3 separate regions of the Homo sapiens genome follow, and regions 2 and 3 are each linked to region 1. The links are contacts of gene promoters, found by promoter capture Hi-C in human tissues and cell types (Jung and others, 2019). All regions are on one chromosome and are shown on one strand. Each heading gives the region's core, a stretch centred on a gene start or on the middle of the fragment in contact. The rest is flanking DNA. Distances are from core to core; before and after follow the strand shown.

Region 1 (4,785 bases), core at 753-3,252:
CCTGTCCCCACGGAATTATTTTGAAGCCAGTCCCAGACATTATATCATTTCTTCTGTAAACACTTTACCATAGAGCTCTAAAACTATTTTAACCTACTATAATACCATAATCATATCTAAAATGAATAGTTGTTCCTTTATATCATCAAATATTCAGCATGTTTACATATCTCCAATAATCTCACGGCTGTCTTTTTATAACCGGTTTCTTCAAATCAGGATCCAAACAATGTCACCTCTGGAAGATACTCGAGAACCAACACATTATTCTGAATCGTGAAGGGAAAGAATAAAGCATTTATCTCGCCTTTCTAAACAATCTGTCTTTCAGAACAACCACATACTTTATGAAGGCAAGTTTCTCTAAGAAGTGATACAGCTAGTAATGAAGAAATAATAGAAGAATCAATTTATGAACTCCTAATTATTAATAGCTCTAATCAAGGACCATTCATGGCTGTTGAAACCAGAAGGTAAAAAGCTGGACGAAGCTTTATCATGGATGGATAAGGCTGGCAACACTCAAACCCCTGATGGCTCTTAGCACAAAAAGAGAGATGGTGAGACATCACCCGCCTCCTGATGGAAGGACACACCACCAACTATGTAGTCTTGCCAAAAAAAATCAAACCTGAATAAGATCGAGCTTTTAACACTTGTAAACTCCAGCGTACAGGAAACACAGGGGACAGAGGAAGATGGTAAATGACACCAGGGGTTGCACTCAGCAAAACCCAGACAATGGGAAACTCATCAGGACAAAAGACCTAGTTTCTTACACACACACACACATACACAAAGGAGCCCTAAAAGTAGTCTACAAGCTATGCTTACCAAAGAAACATAGGGTCATTGTGTTTATTTATTTATTTATTTTGAGACAGAGTCTCGCTCTGTCGCCCAGGCTGGAGTGCAGTGGCGCGATCTCCACTCACTGCAAGCTCTGCCTCCCGGGTTCACGCCATTCTCCTGCCTCAGCCTCCCGAGTAGCTGGGACTACAGGTGCCCGACACCATGCCCGGCTACTTTTTTGTATTTTTAGGAGAGACGGGGTTTCACCGTGTTAGCCAGGATGGTCTCGATCTCCTGACCTCGTGATCCGCCCGCCTCGGCCTCCCAAAGTGCTGGGATTACAGGTGTGAGCCACCGTGCCCAGCCCATTGTGTTTATTTTTATAACTTTCTCTGTATGGAAAAGAATAATGATTTTTTTCCCTTGAGATCATAATACAAAGTATCTTTTAAAATCATTTTAAGTTTGAAAAGTTGCTAAATGAAAAAGAAAGGTGATTAATGGTATATAGTTGTGGTATAAACCATCAGGTTGGGCTTGAAGGACTACTGGAGAAAACACTCTCGGCCGGGAGCCCTGGCTCACACCTGTAATCCTAGCACTTTGGGAGACCAAGGCGGGAAGATCACCTGAGGTCAGGAGTTTGAGACCAGCCTGGCCAACATGGCAAAACCCCGTCTCTACTAAAAATACAAAAATTAGCCAGGTGTGGTGGCGGGCACCTGTAATCCCAGCTACTTGGGAGGCAGGAGAATCACTTGAACCCAGGAGGCGGAGGCTGCAGTGGGCTGAGATTGTGCCACTGCACTCTAACCTGGGTGACAGAGCAAGACTCCGTCTCAAAAAAAACACTCTCATTCTATCAAGAGCCACACCCACACGTGACTGCCTGAAAATGAACACTTAAACTCCTGGTGCAAAGGTAAAGAGAGAAACCATCAAGGTCTAAGGCTCTAAAAGACGTATATCCAGCCAGATCCTAGGGAAGAAAGAGAAAGAAAGATGGCAAGCCACTGTACTGGAAAAAATATTTTAAACAAAACTTTGTATAAAAGTATACAAATAACTTCGTATGCTTTGTATAAAAGTGTACAAATAACTTCGTATGCTTTGTATAAAAGTGTACAAATAACTTCGTATGCTTTGTATAAAAGTGTACAAATAACTTCGTATGCTTTGTATAAAAGTGTACAAATAACTTTGTATGCTTTGTATAAAAGTATACAGAGCTTTATACAAAATTTTGTATAGAAATATATTTTTTTGTATAAAAAGTAGAAACATGGAGTGACAAGAAGTAAAAACGGCCCTATCCTGTCTCCGAGAGATCAACACTGCTTCCATTGTAGCATTAACCAACCAACAATGCATGACGCATGTGTGTTTATATTTATGTGTGCATGTACATGTTTGTTTAAATATAATTATTTTATTTCCAAAATGGGTAGTCATGTAATCTAGTCATTAAAACCAATGGCCCACCAGTTAGGCTTGAGGTGGACTCGGGGCCTCTGTCACTTGCCAGACCTGTGCCCGTGGGCAACATACATAACCCCCTGGAGTTCCTGTCTCAGGTTCCGCCTCTGTAAACAGAAAAGAGCTGTGCCTTCCCCAGAGGTCTGTCATGATTATCGCATGGGATCCTGGTGAGGCTCTCATACCGTGCCCCGCACACACTGGCCACCGTTGCCCAAAAGCTGGACAGTGTGCTCACATCTGGGAGGGCCACCTGCCATTCCTTTCTCAGCATGTGTTGTCTTTCTTATCTCTACACTACACGCGACAGAATCACTTCCTGAAGTTCCAAAGGCATAAACAAATAAAATAATATGGAGGGTTTTGTTTTGTTTTGTTTTGTTTTGTTTTGTTTTGTTTTGAGACGGAGTCTCGCTCTGTTGCCCAGGCTGGAGTGCAGTGGCGCGATCTCGGCTCACTGCAAGCTCCGCCTCCCGGGTTCACGCCATTCTCCTGCCTCAGCCTCCCGAGTAGCTGGGACTACAGGCCTCCGCCACCACGCCCGGCTGATTTTTTTTTTGTATTTTTAGTAGAAACCGGGTTTCACCGTGTTGGCCAGGATGGTCTCGATCTCCTGATCTCATGATCTGTCCGCCTCGGCCTCCCAAAGTGCTGGGATGACAGGCGTGAGCCACCACGCCCGGCCTGGACAGTCTTAATTACAGCACAGAATTCACAGAATAATTTGGGTAGAGTCAATATTTTTTAAAAATAACTTGTAATCATTAAATTAGTTTTAAATGTTGAGTGCATTAATTTTTGAAAATAGCTACTCTGGAAGCTGAGGCAGGAGGATCCCTTGAGTCCAGGAGTTAGTTCGAGGACAGCCTGGGCAACTTAATGAGACCCTGTCTCAAAAAAAAAAAAAGAAAAGAATAGTAAGCCTTCCTACTGAGGAATGTGGAATCTCTTCCTATATTCAAATCTCTTACTTCCTCATGGTAAATTTCTGTAGACTTCTCCAAATATGTTCTAGAGTATTTTTGTTAAAATTTACTCTAAAGCATTTTTTTTTCCAGCTGTGGTGAATAGTATTGCTTTTTTGGTTCACCTAACGTTTGCTGACTGCATCGTGCCTGGTCACGTGAGGTGACACCTGAGAATAAGGTGGACAAGGTCCCACTTGAACCAGATACAGCTTAGTGGCTAAGGCCAGGATATAGGATTTCCACACCTTTACTCCCAGCTGCTAGTACTATCAGTTCTAACAGCCTTTTGGCTGGATTTAAAAATGTGTAATAGTATTGCCTACAAATAATTATTTCCTCTCCTTTCAGGCATTCATGCCTTTTTTTTAAAAAAAAAGAAACATCTGGATGGGCGCGGTGGCTCACACCTGTAATCCCAGCACTTTGGGAGGCTGAGGAGGGCGGATCATGAGGTCAGGAGATGGAGACAATCCTGGCTAACACAGTGAAACCCCATCTCTACTAAAAATACAAAAAATTAGCCGGGCGTGGTGGCGGGCACCTGTAGTCCCAGCTACTCAGAGGCTGAGGCAGGAGAATCACTTGAACCCAGGAGGCGGAGCTTGCAGTGAGCCGAGATCACACCACTGCACTCCAGTCTGGGCGACAGAGTGAGACAAAATAAATAAATAAATAAAAATAAAAAAAGAAACATCTATCATATTTCATTGAATATAAGTTACTATTGATCGTTAAGATCACAATTATTTGACAAACTTCTAAGAAATAAAAGCTTCAACAAATTCTAATGGTACTATGCCAAAATCTACAATTCTCCGTGTTTTAGAATCACTGAAATAATACCAGCGTCTCGTTGGTATTCTCGGCGTGTTCTAAGGGGCACCATTTGGGAAGCGCTGCCTTGACCTCAGCGTTAAGTATGATGCTGGCTGTGCGTTTAATCAGGCCTCGCCTCCCTGTCGCTCCCGTTTCCCAGGAGACCCGGCCTGGTGTCCTCCCTGCCTCACAGCACGGCCCTATTAGAGGCTGGTCGGGAAAGAGAAAACCCATCAAGAATGGAAACATAACAAAGGCCCAAGCCTTTGGGTCTTTGAAGAAGGTACCAGAGGTGATTACAGCAGTTTTCTACTTCAAATGGCAGGAAAGTGCTCTGGTTCTCTCTCTCCCTCTCTCTCTCTCTGTGTGTGTGTGAGTGTGTGTATAACTTTTTTTTTTTCTGAAATGAGTATAAAGCAGAATTTCTCAAATTTCAAAATCATTATTCAGTGGATTGATGAGAGCATGGACTTTAGAATCAATTGAAAAACTCCCTGTGTCTTGGCTCTGTCTTTCACAAATGGTCTCACCCCAGGCAAAGGCAGGGAGGGGCATGGGAGGGACTGAGGTCTAGACACAGTTGTCTCATCTAAAGGGGGCAGCCTTTGAGCAGATCCAGACACCTGCCACCTGAGAGAGGGCTGCACAGCATGCCCCGATCTGCTAGTTCTTCCAGAGAAGCTAGAGATTTCAGATTTCTCTGTGAAATCTCCAAATTTTACAACATTGGCAA
Region 2 (4,785 bases), core at 1,613-4,112, 410 kb before region 1:
TCTCCTGGCTCAGAAACACTTGCAGGCAGAGGCAGATACAAGTTTCATGGGGCCAGAGCTTAAACAATTCTGGGAAGCCCTCTTTACGTATACAAAACTAGACTACAAAACAAGTATTGCTTTAGACCGAGAAAGTACAGAGCTACACGTTAAAGTTAAAAAAGAACAATATCAGAAATATCACAAAATCCAGAAAACCAACACAATGTTTTCCTAACTGCCATGTGCGTCTCCTGAAATACGTCTTCCGGACAGTTCTGGTCCTGTACTCATCGCTTCTTCACACACAGGACAATGATTCTGCAACATTATTTTCCATATCAAGAACAGAAAGATAATGTCTCCCCTTTGCCATGACTCACTGATTTTTTATTACCGACAGTTTAAGGAAGTTTCTTTTAGCCTCAAAAAATCATAACTGAAGAAGTCGATCTTTAGAATTGTCAAATTTGGGAAAATATAAAGTTTTTTCATTTCTGAACTGAAACATTTGAGGGCATTTCAAGTTTTTCTTCTCATCACATATACCCCTTTGATAGATGACACACATTAAGCAGTCTGTGGCAACGCTATCTTTGCTTTTATATTTTAGGTAATGCTATCTTTGTCAGTGTCACTATTTCCTGACAAATCAGCAGGAAATATATAGCTTTTATCATTGTTTGATTCACTAATTGAATTATCGAGCAATCTAAAAACCTGTTTATTGTTTTTACTTGAAATTTTTTCTTCCTTTTAACGAAGTGCTGCTTTTGGCATGATCTGAAAATATTTTGTTACCATTTTTCCTGTTGATGTCAGAACAATTTTTATTGCTGTTATTCAACTTTAACACTTTTGTTTCATAGTCCATTAATACTTTTTTGAGATAGTCTCGCTCTGTCGCCCAAGGTGGAGTGCAATGGCGCCATCTCGGCTCACTGCAACCTTGACCTCCTGGGTTCAAGCGATTCTCGTGCCTCAGCCTCCCGAGTAGCTGGGATAACAGGCGCGTGCCACCATGCCTGGATAAATTTTATATTTTTAGTAGAGACGGGGTTTTGCCATGTTGGCCAAGCTAGCTATTCAGATTCTTTAATGAAAAGTCTAGGTTGGCATGTTTTTAATAGATGGCTTGGATAAAACCACATCCCTGTCTGCTCCTCTTCAGGGAGGACAGTACTCAGGAGGCCACGATGCCCATGATGGCACAGGGAAGGCCCTGTCAGAGGGCACAGCAGGACACACCAAACCTAGCAGTGGGGAGAGATTGGGAGAGGGTTCAAAGAAGGGTTCCCTTGGGGGGACCCTGGGAGCTCGGTCCCAGGGGACACGGAGAGTGAGGTGGAAAGGAGAAGAGCCCGCAGGAAGGAGGTGTACAGAGACCGGGCTGCACCTGCACCCGCCCGTTCAATGAGACGACCCACATAAGCCTGCCGAGCACAGCACAAGTGTTTCAAGTACACCAGCGAATATGACACACTGGCGCGCTGATGACACCCTGGCGCGCTGGCGGAAGAAAAGGTGCCGGTCCCTCGCTTTCTTCATCGGGCTTGCAGTAGCTTCGAGGTTAGCCACAGGGGCTGCCGACTGAACAGCTGGATCTAGGAGGCGGGTCCAGAACAGGAGCCCGAGATCCTTGAAGCCCACTGGGAGGGAACCCGAAGCTGAAGGGAACACTGAGTGTTTCTGGGAACAGAACAGTCTCTTCCACATGAAGAAACGTGGCCCAGGAGAAGCCTCCGTCTGCATCTGGCTATTAGCTGCTCACACTGAAAATCAGGATGATTCACAGAAAATGCTCTTGATAAACTGGACGACCTGGCAACACTGGGACCGCAATCCTGTAGGGCAACAGTCGGTGCCCCGAAGAGCACAGGCACTGAGCCCGAGCCAGCCGGGCTCCTGCAGTGCTGGGCGCAGGCCCTGGAGCATGAGGGGCCCCGGACACCACCTGCGGAGGGAGTGGCCTGTGGGCCTCCCCTGGATCCCACAGGCCGCACGACTCCAAGGGTGCCTGTCCAGCTTCATCCTGTGTGATGGTGGCACCCGGGCCCACAAAGGGCCACCTTGGCGAGCTTGCAGGAACACCCTGTGCCGCTACCCACAGCCTTGGGTGCGCAGCTCTGAGAGCAGCCAGGAGCAGGAAAGGTGGGGGAGGAGAAGCTGGGGGAATGGGGGTGCGGCCAGCTCCAGGGACCTCTGATCTTGCTAAAAGGGCGATACTTTGGTGAGATGGGCACGAAGAAGAGGGCAAAAGAAAACGTGCGCTGGCGTCACCTGGCCCCTTAGAGGCACCTGGGGAAACTGAGGTGGAGGATGAGGACAGGGCGGTCTCGCCAACTTTCGGCGGTGAGATCCCGGGAAGCTGCACGGCCCCCGGGGCTCGCGGGCGCCGAATCCGGGCAGAAGCCGCCGCCGGTCTCCACTTGGCCGCCCCAAGCCGACCTGAGGAGAGCCCGCCGAGGGCGCATTCGCCTCCCGCCAGCCCCTCGCCTCCCCGCCCCGGCCCCTCCGCGCCCGGCTCCCGGGTCCTGGCCTCGCGCCCCCGCCCCGCCGCGCGCTGGCGTGCGTGTCCGCCGCGACGCGCCGAGGCCGGGCCGGAACCGGACCCGCCCGCCGCCCGCCGCCAGCCCCGCCGCCAGCCCAGCCGCGGCGCCCACAGGCCCGGCCGCCCGCGCGCCTCTCACCCGTAAGGCCGCCGCCCCTGCCGTGGCCCCGGCGTCGCTGCAGCACGAAGAAGGGGTTGGCCCGCTCCGTCACCCACAGCGCATTGGCCACCAGCACCTCCTCCGGGCTCAGCCACATCGCGGAGCCGCTCGCACCGGGCCGAGGCCCGCGAGACGGAAGCGCCCGCCGCCGTCGGCGTCCCGGAGCGGAGCGTGCGGAGCGGAGCGTGCGGAGCGGGCCGGGGCGGGGCGGGGCCGGGCGGGCGGCGCCCCCTGGCGGGCGTGTGGCGCTCCCGCACGCGGCCCGAGTTCCGCGCCGCCCCCTCAGCCCCGGCCTCGGGCGCGCGCCAGCCTGGCCTCCTGGAGCGGTGCAGCCCACGGCCTCCGGCCTGGGTCCAGAACGGAACGGCCCAGTCCGCAGACAGGGGAGCCGCTGTGCAGAGCAGGGCTTCTGGCGTTTTGAAAGCTGTGCAGTGTGAGAGAAGGATGTCAAGAAGCAGAGTTTGGCGGCTTTTGGCTGGTTGCGCGTGCAACCCGGGGCGTGTTAGCACTGCAAAGGGCGCCTGGAAAGGGTTTGCAGTTCCTCCTAATTCTCAGCTTTCTTTTCTTTTTTTTTTTTCGACAGAGTCTTGCTGTGTCGCCCAGGCTGGAGTGCAGTGGCGCAATCTCAGCTCACTGCAACCTCTGCCTCCCGGGTTCAAGTGATTCTCCTGCCCCAGCCTCTTTAGCTGGGATTACAGGCTCCCGCCAACACGCCCGGCTAATTTTTTTGTATTTTTAGTAGAGACGGGGTTTCACCATGTTGGCCAGGCTGGTCTCGAACTCCTGACCTCGGGTGATCCGCCTACATTGGCCTCCCAAGTCCTGGGATTACAGGAGTGAACCATCGCGCCCGGCCAGTTCTCAGAATTCTGACACTGGGGCCGGGAGACTAGAAGAATCTTCCAGCGCAGGGCAGGTGCCAGGAGGCCCTGATACGGGCTGCATCCTTGGAAATCAGTGCTGCCCCTCCCCTGACAGACGGGTCACAGAGGCTGGCCGGCCCTGGGGATGGGGTCTGGACTGGCCCTGGGCCCAGTGGCGGCTTCTGCGCAAGTGTGAGGCTGGCTGCAGGCGAATGCGGGTCCCTGGTCTCCCAGTGTTGGCCTGCAGGGGCAGCGCCAGTCCACACACAGCCTTCTGCATGAGGGGGCTGTCAACTCCACCTGGGACAACGGGCCTGGGGCCTGTCCGGGGTCGACTGGGATGTGGGGTCACCCTGCTGGCTGGAACCCTCACCAGGGTCTGGCTAGAGGGCAAAGGGAAGGGGGCAGTTAAACCATCCTTGGAGCTGGACCTGACTTCCAGGTGGGTTTCTGTGATTGGCACTCAAGAATCTTGGTGCGATGGATGTAGGTACATGCAGTTGACACCCAGAGTGATCTGCAGTCTTCTTCAATGTTGCTGGATATAGGAATCAGCTTTCAAGATGCAGAGGCGGGCTTTCTTCAACACCTTGGAAGTCTGAACTAATATTGTCATTGTGCTCTCTAGAGGGAAAGAATTTGGAAGAACTGCACTTTTTAACACCCTGAGAGGAGGTAAAGAGTCGTCTTGTTCCTTAATCCCAGTGGTTCTCAAATTGGGTATACATTAGGATCACCTGGAAGGCTGATTCAAACAGGCTGCTGTAGTCCCAGCCACTTGGGAGGCTGAGGTGGTAGGATCACTTGAGGCCAGGAGTTCAAAATCGGCCAGGGCAATATAGCAAGACTCCATCTGAAAACAAAACAAAACAAAAAACAGCCACACAGGTTGCTGCCCCCTCCCTCCCAGGGTGTTTGCACTGCTAACTCGTTCCTAGGTGATGTTGATGCTGCTGACCTGGAGACCACTCCTCGAGAATGGTTTTTTATAAGAAGAAAAAGAACAAACATTTATCGATCACTTAGTATGTGCGTGCTAAGCTTACTTCTTTTTGATTTTCTGAGATATAAGTCACATTCCGTAACGTTCACTCTTTTAAAGTGCAAAACGTAGTGGTTTTTAGTATATTCACTAGGCTGGGCATCCATCATCACTAATTCCAGAACATTTTTATCAAGTCAAAAGAAACCCCTTACCCATTAGCTGCCATTCCCCACTTCCCCCCGGCTTT
Region 3 (4,785 bases), core at 839-3,338, 270 kb after region 1:
TGCTAGGGTTACAGGTGTGCGCCACCGTGCCCAATCAAAAAATTTTTAAAATCTCGTGTGGATATTCATGATGGGGGGAAGACCTGCTCAAGCCACCTGAGGCAGAGTTATTCATCCCAGCAAGGAAGTCAACTGGGAGGCTTCCCCTGAAAGGGACACCGATGTCTGGGTTCCCTGGGCACCTTCCCACCAACACTAGATCAGTTGACAAAAGGTGGTCTCTCCGCTAGAGTAGAAGGAATCAAAGTCACTAGGTTATTTGGACAAAACCAGCAGAAACTGCAGGGAAAACAAGCCCAACAGCGGATTTCCTGAAGCCCTCATTCCTCCCCCATTCCGAGGAAGAAATCTACAAGTATAGAGGGAAAAAATAAAAACTTTCAAATTTTAGCAACAAATGGCTTTGGTGCGTTTGCATTCTCGCCAGTCTTCAAGGAGTAGATAATTTTTATGCTTCATAAACAGTTACAGAGCACAACAGGAAGAAAGACCTGCCAGTTTTGTTTCCAAATCCGGTTTACCTCTGATACTGGCCCCATCTCTGTCACCTTGCACTGCTGGCTCTATGCCACCTGCAGACTCTCGCGGCCTCTCTCTCCCTCTCTCACGCAGCACCCCTCACAAAATCTGGGACTTGGCACTCTCGGTCCCCCACAGGGATCAGCATTTGGATGAGAAAATACCAGGCTCGAGCTGCTCTTAACCACGTTTATTGAGAGGGGCCGGGGGAAGGGGATGGACGGTCCTCCCCGCGGCGGGGTTTTCAGCCCTCGCGGGTGGGCAGCGTCTTGTCCTCAGGTGTAGATGCTCCAGTCTCGGCTCAGCCAAACACTGTCAGGGCCCCCTGGAAAGCAGAAGCCGAGCTTGAGTGCCCCCAGCCCTGCCACCAAGAACTCAGGCGGGGGCGCGGCAGCGGCCGGCTCTGTGGGGAGCGGGAGCGGGGCGGTTCCGCTGGCGTCTCCGGGGGACGCGCACCCGCGCGGGGCCATCTCCGCCTTCCCCGCCCCTGCAGCTCGGATGCGCCCCACCCAGTTCCCACCCGGAGACCCGGGCTTCTCCCAGGGACAGGGCTTGGAGGGGCAGGACGGGAAACAGCCCTGACGTAGGGCCGGGACACCTCTGGTGCAGTTTTGAGGCTGGCCGGGAAGGGATGCCCGCGCAGGAAGGGCACCCGGGGTGCCCACTTTACCAGCAGGGCCTTCAGGGCCTTCACGGCCCCCACGGCCTGGGGACCCAGCTCAGCCACACACTTCTGGGAGCCCTCTATGAGGTGGTTCACGGGGATGCCCAGGCTGCTCAGCAGGAGCTTCAGCGGGTTGAGGGTGCCGAGGGGGTTGGCCAGGGTCCCGGCCCCGGCCTCCGCCGCCGACTCCAGCGCAGCGACAGGCTGGGCCACAGGCTTGGCCGAGCCCACTAAGAAAGCAGCAGCTGCAAGCGAACAGGGAGGGGTCACCGCCTGCGCGCCGGGGTCCCCAGAAGGCAGGTCCAGGACGCGCCCCCGCGGGAGGCGCCCAGGAACCGTCGCGCCCTGCCCGGCTCCCCGACCGCCCCTCCCTCCTGCGCCGAGGCCTGCCAGGTGCGAGCCCCCGGGACACAGGCGGGTCTGGGGAGGCGGCCCCGCCAGGAGACGCTGCAGGGTCACCGGAGTGGCCTGAGGGTGGCGGAAGGACCGGTGAACTCTGTGCAGGGTCCGGGACAGGCCCCCAAGGGAGGGGACACTCGCGCTGCGCCTTGCAGGATGAGGAGCCGGTCTCCAGACGGGGGGCAGACGGGTGTCCCCAGGCCAGGGGCGGCCTCCATCCCGGCACGAGGCTGGAGACAGCCCTGAGAGGGGGAGGCCGCGGGCTGCAGGCGCGGGGCCCCGGGGTGGCGGAGCCCTCTGGGCGCCGGGCGAGGCTGGAAGGACCTGGGATCCACGATCGGCGCAGGCAGCGGCGGGGGCGCAGCGGGCGCCGAGGCCTCAGGCCCCACCGTGCGCGCCAGGAGCCCGGGGCGCTCACCGGAGCTGCAGGACAGGGCCACGCAGAGCCCCAGGAGGGCGGCGAGCTTCATGGCGCGGGGGCTCGGGGCGCGCGGGGAACCTGCGGCTGCCCGGGCAAGGCCACGAGGCTTCTTATACCCGGTCCTCGCCCCTCCAGCGCCGGCCTCGCCCGCGCTCCTGAGAAAGCCCTGCCCGCTCCGCTCACGGCCGTGCCCTGGCCAACTTCCTGCTGCGGCCGGCGGGCCCTGGGAAGCCCGTGCCCCCTTCCCTGCCCGGGCCTCGAGGACTTCCTCTTGGCAGGCGCTGGGGCCCTCTGAGAGCAGGCAGGCCCGGCCTTTGTCTCCGCGAGGCCCACCCCGGCCCGCACCTTCGCTTTGCGGTCTGACCCCACGCGCCCCCCTGCAGGGCTGGGCCCGGGTGAGGGGAGCTTCCCTCGCGCCAGGGCAGGGGCGGGGGCGGCGCAGTTCCTGGCTCCCTGGTCCCTGCCTCTGATCCCAGACCGTGGCAACGTCGGGCACTGGGGGTCCTCGTGGGCGCCTTCTGCGCCTGGGGAGGTGGAGGCGCCAGGGACGATCAGGCCTCACTCCCGGCCGCCTCCCCGGCCGGGCCACAGGCAGCCACAGTGCAAACAGAAGTGGGGCGTTTTTCTGTCTTCGAAACTAGCCTCGACGCCAGTGGATGGGCCTGGTTTGTTCCTGAGTTTCTCTAAATGTCCTCACTCGTCTGTCACCTGCAGAAGTATGACAGATGGAGAGCAAAGCACATTTTGAAAACTTTTGCAAATGATACATAAACTAATTTGCTTTTAGTCCTTCTTCTTTCCTCTATTTTTTGACCCCAGGCATTGAGCACTGAGTGACTCACGTTTTGCTGCGTGGCTGCTCTCAGCTAGGTTGGTGCAAAGTCTCTCTTTTCTTTTGTAAAGTGTAGCTGGCACGCGTGGGAAACAGGCTCCCGGGTGGGAGGACCTGACTCTTCAGGCAGTGTCCTGGAATTCCTTCCCTATGGCTGACAGCACGTCTTAGCCCTCAGCCACCCCGAGCTACTGCGGCCTCCTCCGCACCTGCAGACACTTGTGCCTTTGCCAACTGTTGTGGCCAGGCACACGCATTCACACTGTTTCTGTTCACTTACACTTTTCCTTGACTATTTTGTTTGGGGGATTTTTGCATTATAAATCTGGAGTTTGGTTGTGTTTTGTTGGTCATCATGGAAGTAATTTTAATGGGAAATACGTTTTCTTTTTTAAAAACAGTTTGAAGTTAATTACTTTTTTGGTGGTGGTAAAGACACTGTCTTGCCGTGTTGCCCAGGCTGGTCTCGAACTCCTGAGCTCAAGCAATCCTCCCACCTCAGACTCCCAAGTAGCTGGGACTAGAGGTGTGAGCCACCACACTCAGCGGATTTTGATTTTGTTTTTTGTTTGTTTGTTTTTTGAGACAGTCTCACTCTGTCGCCCAGGCTGGAGTGTAGTGAGGTGATCTTGGTTCACTGCAGCCTCCACCTCCCAGGCTCAAGCAATTCTCCCACCTCAGCCTCCCAAGCAGGTGGGGCTATAGGTGTGCACCACTATGTCCAGCTAATTTTGTTTATTTTTTGTAGAGACAAAGTCTCACTGTGTTGCCCAGACTGGTCTTGAACTCTTAGCCTCAAGTGATACTCTTGCCTCAGCCTCCCAAAGTGCTGGGATTACAGGTGTGAGCCACCACGCCTGGCTTGATTTATTTTTATTTTTTCTAGAGATGGGGTCTCGCTACATTGACCAAGCTGGTCTCAAAATCCTGGCCTGAAGCAATCCTCCCGCCTCAGACTCCCAAGGTGCTGTGATGACACGTGTGAGCCACCCCGCACAGCCCAGCTTCACCATCTTAAGGGCACACTCCATTAGCATTAAGTATATTCTAATGTTGTGCAAACATCACCACAATCCATTTCCAGAACTCTTTTCCTCTTATAAAACTGAAACTCTGAGCCTATTAAACAACTCCCCACTCCCCTCCCCAAGCCCTTGGCACCACCATTCCACTTTCTGTCTCTGAATCTGGCCACTCCCGGCACCTCATATGAGTGGAATCGGGCAGTGTTTGTCTTTTGTGTCTGGCGTATTTCACTTAGCATGATATCCTCCAGGTTCATTCATGACCTTCAGAGTTTCCTTCCTTCTTAGGGTAGGATACTGCTCCATTGCATGGCTGTGCCACGTTTTCTTCACCCATTCACTTCACCCGTGGGTGGACATGTGGGCGCTTGCATGTTTTCACTGCTGTGAGTAATGCGGCCGTGAACACGGCTGTGCAAATGCCTCTTTGGGACCCTGCTGTTGGCTGTTTTGGGTGGCTGCTCAGAGGTAGAATGGCTGGAGCCTGTGGAACTTGCCTGTGTCATTTGTGAGGATCTGCCATCTCTCCCATAGCAGCGGCACCACGCTGCCTTCCCAGCAACAATGCACAAGGATCCCAGTGTGTCCACAACCTCATGATGCTTGTTCTTCTCCTGAGCAGGATCTGGCAGCCTTGGCCCAAGCAATCCCAGTGGGCGCATCTTGGGAGCTGACTTTGGGGCCACCTTTCCCCATGCTGCCTGGGGACCAGAGAACACTGACCGCGGGAAAGACCGATGCTGCCGAGGCCAGGAGGAGGGGGAGGCCGTCATCTGTGGGTCCCCAGCAGCGCTTGGGGTCCTGGCCACTCCAGCGGCCCCTTGCACCTGCCTCCAGGGATCCTTTGTCTTCAAAATAACCTCCCTCCACCTTCCGGCTCATAGTGCCTTGGGTGGATCTGTTCCCATTTCCCACAAGCCTGCAG

Evidence for each region. Contacts are between HindIII fragments. The study calls those that stand out against the background at their distance.
Region 2: the fragment with the promoter of TBC1D9B here is called in contact with a fragment that was not itself captured in region 1 in 1 of the 25 tissues and cell types used here (dorsolateral prefrontal cortex).
Region 3: a contact is called between the fragment with the promoter of SCGB3A1 here and a fragment that was not itself captured in region 1, in 1 of the 25 tissues and cell types used here (liver).

What each region holds. Positions count from the first base shown.
Region 1 is chr5:180,319,134-180,323,918 of GRCh38, forward strand. All of the region lies in intron 9 of GFPT2 (glutamine-fructose-6-phosphate transaminase 2), which reads right to left. Among named protein-coding and RNA genes, the nearest start is that of MAPK9, 29 kb to the left of the region's middle. RefSeq lists an enhancer at 3,996-4,681. The HindIII fragment of the contact is 5,502 bases long and covers 1-4,753 here.
Region 2 is chr5:179,905,035-179,909,819 of GRCh38, forward strand. TBC1D9B (TBC1 domain family member 9B) reads right to left here and starts at 2,863. Exons shown (of 21, transcript NM_015043.4): 1 at 2,670-2,863. The coding sequence starts at 2,787. RefSeq lists an enhancer at 1,817-2,594 and silencers at 2,475-2,524, 2,575-2,714, 2,725-2,784, 2,855-3,014. The HindIII fragment of the contact is 17,290 bases long and covers 1-4,785 here.
Region 3 is chr5:180,589,411-180,594,195 of GRCh38, forward strand. It overlaps SCGB3A1 (secretoglobin family 3A member 1), which reads right to left and starts at 2,089. Exons shown (of 3, transcript NM_052863.3): 1 at 2,001-2,089; 2 at 1,190-1,428; 3 at 695-844. The coding sequence starts at 2,052. The coding sequence ends at 821. LOC124901154 (a long non-coding RNA gene) reads left to right here and starts at 3,760. Exons shown (of 2, transcript XR_007059088.1): 1 at 3,760-3,799; 2 at 4,483-4,785. RefSeq lists enhancers at 281-950, 951-1,620, 1,621-2,290. The HindIII fragment of the contact is 36,128 bases long and covers 1-4,785 here.